2 separate regions of the Homo sapiens genome follow, and region 1 is linked to region 2. The links are contacts of gene promoters, found by promoter capture Hi-C in blood cells and fetal thymus (Javierre and others, 2016). All regions are on one chromosome and are shown on one strand. The core of a region is centred on a gene start or on the middle of the fragment in contact, and the rest is flanking DNA. Distances in the headings are between cores, read along the strand shown.

Region 1 (3,589 bases), core at 280-2,779, 510 kb after region 2:
TTTCCGTGAAAGGTTGCCCTGGGTAACTCGTCTCCGAGGGGACGTAGCCCTCCCCTCTCCAAGTGGCAACTTATCGATCCGAGAGATTGATAACCCCCAGCGCCGCGCCGTGCACCCGCTCCGTTCTCCTGGCTCCGGGGCGCGCCGGCCCAAGGTGGCGCCACTCACCCGGGAGGGGGGCGAGGTCGGGGCCGCTCCCCACCCGAGACCTGGCCGCCTGCAGCTAGTTGGGGAGGGAGAGGCTCCGAGGAACGGTTTAGGGGAGCCGTCTGGGGAAGACTTTTCCCAAGTCAGAACCCTTCCCGGGCCTGCCCGGAGACCAGAGTCTCAGCCGGTTCAGGAGCTGCGGGGGACGCGCGGCGCCCCCTGGCGGCTGGGTAAAACCTCGCAGAAAGTAGCAGCTGGTTTATTTCTTCTGACAACTGCGCGGGGAGGGGGTGCTCCTGCAAGGTCTCAGGGGTAAGGTGTTCCTTTTACAGTCGGACAGAGGAAGTGCACACCAGGCGCGAGAATTCTACAAATAAGGGTGTAGGGGGCGCACGGGGTTAGCCCAGTGGTGGAAGAATTTGTTGGATGTGGGGCAGGGGTGGTCTTTGAACACCGACCGGTGGGCAAAAGCCAACCTGGCAGAGCCAGGTCCCTGGATAGTTCATGTGCGTGAGGCATACATCGCGAGGTGGCAATACTAGGGCAGCCCAACTCCGTTTGCTCCCCCATTCTTTCACTTTTTACAGTTTGTGAGGCTCATGCGTCTTGGCGAGCTTGACAGCCGCGTGGGCCCTAAGTGTGTTCCCTCCTCCTGCCCCCGGTGCAGCCAGCGCCCGAGCCCCGGCCCCGCGTGCTGGTGCGGTGCCCGCGCCCGCGCCGTGCCTGCCGCCGCCGCCGCCGCCGCCACCACGGTCCGGGTTTTGCGGGCGGCCGGAGCTGTATTTCCAGCGCTGTCCATCGCTCGGTGCTGTTGGCCCTCTCTCCGTCTGATCCGAGCCGGAGCAGTGCGGGGCGCCCCACGGGATCAGAGCGCTCCCCCGCCGGGACTCCGCTCCTCACATCCTCCTGCTGGGACCCGGCTACATTTCCAGCCAAGCCTGGCTTTATTATGTGTCTCTGCAGTGCAGCCCCAGCAGCCGGATCGGGAGGAGGAGAGCCAGCGACCACAAAGAAGACAGGAGCGCGAGGGAGGCTGGCGGGCGGGCCGGCGCCGGCTGGAGCGCGGAGGAGCCGGGGCGCAGCCGCCGCCGCCGCTGCCCAGGAGGACGGGAGCCCGGCCGCCGCCGCCGCCGCCTGCTCGTCCTCCTCTTCCGCCACCGCGGCCGCCGCCTCCCCCCTCTCCGAGCCCCTGGCCCATGGAGGCAGCTAGCGGGGCCGGCGACTTGGCACCGGCCTGGGGATCGGCTGCGCGCCTCGCGCTGAGCACCGCAGCCCGAGGGCAGGCAGCGGCGGCCCGGCGCACGGGCTGAGCGATGCCCGGGGCACGGGCGCGCCTGCCGGCCGCCGCCTGAGCGCCCCCGCGCGCCCCTTCCTCCTCCGGGGGGCCGGCGCCGGGCCGATCCGAGAGCCAGAGAAGGGGGCGTGAGCCAGGGGCCCCGAGCCGCGGCTTCCGAGCCACTGCGGCCGTTTCGAGCCTCCCCTCCAAGTAGGCTGAGTTGAGGGACCCCCGCCCCCCATCCATCATAATCTCCAAACCAGGCGCTTGGGCATTTTTGAGCCATTAATATTTATTATTTTTTTTTGTGCGGCAGGGGATAATTCGAAGGCTTCTTTTTTTTTTTTTTCCTGGGGGGTACTGAGCTTCCGCGCTCCCGACCGCCTCCCGGTCTCCTCCCCCCTTGAGATACCCTCGACTCCAGCCCCGTTCCCCCTCCTCAGATGGGTTCATTGTGAGCTCCGCACCGGGCTGCGTGGCCGGACGCCTGCAAACTTTGCACAAAAATCCGGCAAGGGGCGGAGGAGGAGGAGAAGGAGGAGGAGGGTGAGGGTGGCGGTAGGGTGGGGGAGGGAAGGAGGGGGCCGCAGGGGCCGGGGGCCGGCGGGGGGTTGGGAGGAGGAGGGGGGCGGCTTTTTTTTTTTTTTTTTTTTTTTTTTTTTTGCATAACTCGGCTCGGCCGAGTGGCCTCCGGACTCCCCGCGCCGCTGGGACCGCCGCTTGGATCGGGAGCCCCGGACTGCCGCATTGCAACAGGCAGGGCCCCGGCGCGCCCCCCGGGCCTCCCCCCGCCTTCGAGCGGCCTCGGCCGGCCCGGGCTGCCCCCCCAAGGGAGGCCGCCCCGGACCTGCGGTCCGCTCCCCACAGCCGCCAACCGGGCTGCAAAAAAAAAAGTTTCCAAGAGACAGGCGGAGGAGAAGGGGGAGAAGGGCTGCCCGGAGCGGCGGGGGGCGGCGGGGGGAGCCGGCTGCGGAGGGCGACGGAGCGCCCGGAGCCCCGGACATGTCCAGGCGGAAGCAGGCGAAGCCGCGCTCGGTGAAAGGTGAGCGAGCGAGGCCCGGCGGAGGCGCGAGCGAGCGAGCGAGGAGGGAGGGAGCGAGGGAGGAGGGACCGGCGAGCGGGCTGGCTGCCGGGGACCCGCGCGAGCGAGCCGAGAGGAGGAGGAGGAGGCGGCAGAGGAGGCGGAGGCGGAGGCGGAGGCGGAGGAGGGGGAGGAGGAAGCCGGGAGCAGGAGGCGGAGGCGGCGGCGGCGGCGGCGGCGGCGGAGGGGGTACGCCGCGGACACCCTCCCTGCCCGGACTCGGCGCCGTCGCCCTTGGGGGACCCAGGCCTGGGGGCGCCGCTAAGGGGCCCTTGCCGCTCCCTCCGTGCGGGGCCCGGGCCCGTGTGGCCAATCAAGGGGTGCTGGCCCGACTTGGCGGGGATTGCGAATCTCGGCGGCGGCGGGCGGGCGACAGGAGGAAGGAAGAGGCGGCGAGGACGGGCGCCCGGCAGGCCGACCGCTCCTCGCTGGCCCCGGGCCTCGCTGGCTCTCTCTGGCCCCTGCCTGGTCGCCCGAGGACGCGGGGAGCGGCGGGCGCTGTCGGCGAGCGCCCCGGGCGCCGCGCCCTCGCCCCGGCCGCCTGGCGCCCCCTCCCGCCCCTGCCCAGGCCTTCTCCCGGCCCGGGCCCCTGCACTTCCTGCCTCCTCCACCGAGGCCCACCGGGCAGGGAGCCTCCGCCAGGAGTTCATTGTCTGCACGGCGCCGGCGGGACGCAGGTCCTCAGGGGAGCTCAGCGGCCGCGGTGCGCGCCCCTCCGCGGAGGGCGCCCCGGATCTGACCCCGGGCACCGGCACCCTGGATCTGACCCCGGGCACCGGCACCCTCGACACCCAGGCCGGCTTTCTGTGCTGGCTCCCCGGGGTGCGCGCGTTTGTGGGGAGCTGCAGATATATAGATACACACACCCATCCCTTCGTCTCCACGCTTTGCTTTCTATTTCCAGCGAGGGCCCCCAGCTCGAGGGGACCCCTGGAGAGTAGAGGCCCCGGGGAAAGGCCGCGCGCCGGCAGCAGAGCCCCTCCCCTGGCCTCCTCTCCCCGCGGCTGGCCTTTCCAGGCCTTGCCTGCTGCTTTGTCCCGATTCTAGCCCCTCGGTTGGGTGCCCGGGCGCTCGGCTGTGAGATG
Region 2 (3,681 bases), core at 1,151-3,650:
AACTGGGGCCTCTGCTTCTGGGACTCTCACAGGGCTGTGATCAGGATGTCAGCCAGGGCTGAGGTCTCATCTGAATGTTCCACTGAGGAAGGATCCACTTTGAAGCTCACACAGTTGCTGGCAGGATTCAATCCTTCAAGGCTGTTGGACTGATAGCCTCAGTTGTAGCCGGATGTCAACTGGGGCCCAGCCTCAGGTCTTTGTCACATGGGCTTCTCCAGCATGGCAGCTTACTTCATCAAAACATGCAAGCCAAGAAGGCAAGAGAGACGGTCAGCAAGTAAGACTGAAGTCTTATGTATCCTCAACACAGGAGTGACGTCCATCATCTTTGCCATATTCTATTGCTCTGAAGCCAGTCTCCAGGCCATTCTACACTCACTGGGAGGTCATGAATGGCAGCAGGCAGAAATCTCTCAGGGGAGTCTGCCCGAACCAGGACCGTGCAGCTCAACTAGCATTTTCTGGTGCCTTCTATGTGCCAGGCATGGTATTAGTGCTGAGAATTTAAAACTAGATGAATTTGGGCTTCCACTTCCAGGAACATTTTTCTGGGAGGTGTTTTCTGCTACGTACTCTTATTCACTTTCCATTGATGTGACCACTTTGTGACCTATGTAGAATCACTCTTGAGAGGGTAGGGAAATTACTAACTTGATAGTATGGATGAGTTCACCAGACCTTTTTCCTCTGAGGGGCATTTGGACAGTAGTAGTCACTGTGCTAGGCACTGTAAGTACCAAGGAGGTACCCAGGGTAATGAGGAGCAGACAGGTAAACCCACAGGTTGAGCCTGGAGCAAGGCAATGCCACAATAGAGGCCAGACCCACAGTGGGAGTTGGCATAGTGGTTCTTAAAGCAAAATAAGTTACAGACAGTGGATGAAAAGCTGAAACCAAGCTTTGCCCTATGCTTAGGGGGCCTAGGGGGCCTAGCTGGCTTGATTTCAGAGCAGCAGAAGGTCTCTTCCCCAACACAACCCCTCTTCCCACACCCTGATCTCTGCCTCACGGACACCAGAGAGGCTTGTTACAGGGAAATAATAGACACACACTTTTAGCTTTCATGAAAAAGCAACTCTCTTCATTAGAAGAACCTCATCTTCCCTGGCTAACCATAGAAGTCTGGCAGGAGCTGCCAATCACAGACTCCACTTCTCTTGGCCAAGGGGGTGAGGGGGTAGATTTGGCATCCAGGCCGAATCAATCTCCCATCCCCTGTCCCATAAAACATGTGACACAAGCCAAGCCAATCAGAGTCCTTCCCTGGGACTGTTTTCCAGGTGAAGCTGACAGGAAGAGATCTTTTTCCCAGTTGGTCAGGACACTATAAAGAAGAGGCCTCAGAAGCAGATGGTGGCCATGTTTCCAGCCATATAGGAAAGAAGGGGGGAGATGGAGACCGATATACAGAGAGACAAGAGAGAGAGCGAGCTGGCATGCCAGTCAACAGCATTACATCCTTGGTTCCTGTCTTCCCTCTGGCAAGCTTTATTCTTGCCCTTTCTAGACATGTAAACCAATAAATCCCTTTTTATTTACTTGAAATAATTCAAATTGGTTTCTATTAGTTGCCAACAATAGGGTCCTAAAATATAAGCCTATAATTTCACCACTGAAGTTCAAGGTAAAGCTACAAATCTTCCTGGGAGAGGTGATTCATGGGTCTAAATTGTTACTAAAGTATAAATGACTGATAACAGATCCTTTCTTAAGAGGAGACTATAATTACGAGCTTATCTGAAAACAGACAAAGCACCATACAGCTAGAAGTAAAGACAGTCAAAACGTCTGGTAACCTTCACCTATCAGCACATAAGTTTTTTTTAAGATTAGAATCTTCAGTCACCAATGTGCTGAGTTTGCTGGGTCTGGCACCCAGTATGGGGTTCAGTCAATATCGTAAAAGGGAAGAAACAGAAGCAAGGGAAAGTGGAAAGAAAGGAAGAGTGGGGGAAGGAGGAAGGGGAAAAAAAGAAAAGAAAAAAAGAGGGAAGGAGACGGGAAGAGGAGAAGGAAGGGTGATGAGGGAGGAAGAAAAGAGAGAAGGAAGGCTTGAAGGGAGGCAGTAAGGAGGGAAGAAAGAAAGGAAGGAAGGAGGAAGGAAGGGAAGAAGGGAAAGAGAAAGAAAGAGAGGGAGGGAGTAAAAAGAAGGGAGGGAAGTGGAGACGGAGGGAGAGACACACAGAGACAGAGACAAGACAGACAAATTGAGGGGAAAGGGAGGAAGGAAGAAAGACGAGAGTCTGAGCGGTGGATCCCGCCCCGGCCCCGCCCTCGGCCCCGCCCCCGGCCCGCGAGCTGCAGCACCACCTCCGGTCGCCAGGGGCCGCCACCCGCAGCCGCCGGCACCCTGTGCGCGCGGCGGGCCTTCTTTCCCGCCTCTGCGCCGGCCGCGCGCCCCCCCCGCCGCCGCTCTCGGGCTCCGGCCGGGTCTCGCGCGCCGTCTTCTCGAGAGGGGCATCGCGCCGCCCGGCGCGCGCCGCCCCCCTGCCTCGCGGCGCGGGGTCTCGCGGGCCCCGCTCCCGCCCTCCGCTCGCCTGGCCCGGACCGGAAGCGGCGCCGCACGGCCTGGGCCTGGCGCGGGGGGCGGGCACCGGGGCCCGGTCGGACATGGGCAAGAAGCACAAGAAGCACAAGTCGGACAAACACCTCTACGAGGGTGAGGAGGGGGCCGGGGTGCGGGCGGCGGGCCCTCGGCGGCTCTGCCGGGCTTCCGCTCTTTCCCAGTGGCTCCGGGGCGGCCCGGGGCCCTTCCTTCCCACGGCAGGCCCAGGCCGGCGAAGGGGGCGCGTCCTGCCGGAGGCCGCGCTGCCCCCCGTGCGGCCGCGGCATTCGAACCCGGGTCCCCCTGGTCCGGTGGGTCTCTGGTGGGGAGACGTGAGGCGGGCCCGGGAGGCCTGGGAGCGTTCGGGGCGGGCGGCGCCGCCGCACCCCCGGGCCGGGGTCCGTCATTCAACAGGTGCTTCGCGGAGCGCCCAAAGCCGCCTCGGGCTTGCTGCGCCTTGGCGCTCTGCATCCTTAGCACTCCCTGGAGAGCCCCGATTTTAATCGACGCGCTTTCCTTTCTTTTCTTTTCTTTTTTTAAGAGTATGTAGAGAAGCCCTTGAAGCTGGTCCTCAAAGTAGGAGGGAACGAAGTCACCGAACTCTCCACGGGCAGCTCGGGGCACGACTCCAGCCTCTTCGAAGACAAAAACGATCATGACAAACACAAGGACAGAAAGCGGAAAAAGAGAAAGAAAGGAGAGAAGCAGATTCCAGGGGAAGAAAAGGGGAGAAAACGGAGAAGAGTTAAGGTACAAGTGGTTACATTGCTTTGGCTTTGCGGACGGCACTGCCTCTTCCAGGTGCCAACCTCATTTTATTTTCTTTGTATCTGGGGAAAACAAACGCCTCTAAGATCTGGCTCGTTTGAGGAGGAGCAGGACAGAATAGAGACATGAATCATCTATGAGTTTCAGCAAGTCGTTTTTGGATTATACTCTTAGGCAATTGTACTCGCACATCAGGTGAGGAAGCAGCTAAGTCCAAATTTTGAGGAGCTGCTTCAAAGAATGGTTTTTCCATCTAGGCAGGGTAAAAAGTCATGCTCAAGAAAGCCTCAGTGTTCAAGGATTGTCAAAAATAGTCATTTCAGAAGCGAGTGGGATCTACTGGGGTTTAAAGTTTGTTCTGAAAT

The links. Contacts are between HindIII fragments. The CHiCAGO score rates a contact against its expected background, and 5 or more counts as called.
Region 1: a fragment that was not itself captured here is called in contact with the fragment with the promoter of BRD7 in region 2 in 3 of 17 cell types (neutrophils, naive B cells and monocytes); the score reaches 6.0 in neutrophils.

Annotation. Positions count from the first base shown.
Region 1 is chr16:49,854,611-49,858,199 of GRCh38, reverse strand. It overlaps ZNF423 (zinc finger protein 423), which reads left to right and starts at 2,088. Exons shown (of 8, transcript NM_001379286.1): 1 at 2,088-2,465. The coding sequence starts at 2,426. RefSeq lists a silencer at 2,585-2,844. The HindIII fragment of the contact is 5,566 bases long and covers 1-3,589 here.
Region 2 is chr16:50,367,707-50,371,387 of GRCh38, reverse strand. It overlaps BRD7 (bromodomain containing 7), which reads left to right and starts at 2,400. Exons shown (of 17, transcript NM_013263.5): 1 at 2,400-2,662; 2 at 3,090-3,298. The coding sequence starts at 2,614. RefSeq lists silencers at 2,222-2,471, 2,502-3,011. The HindIII fragment of the contact is 8,339 bases long and covers 1,492-3,681 here.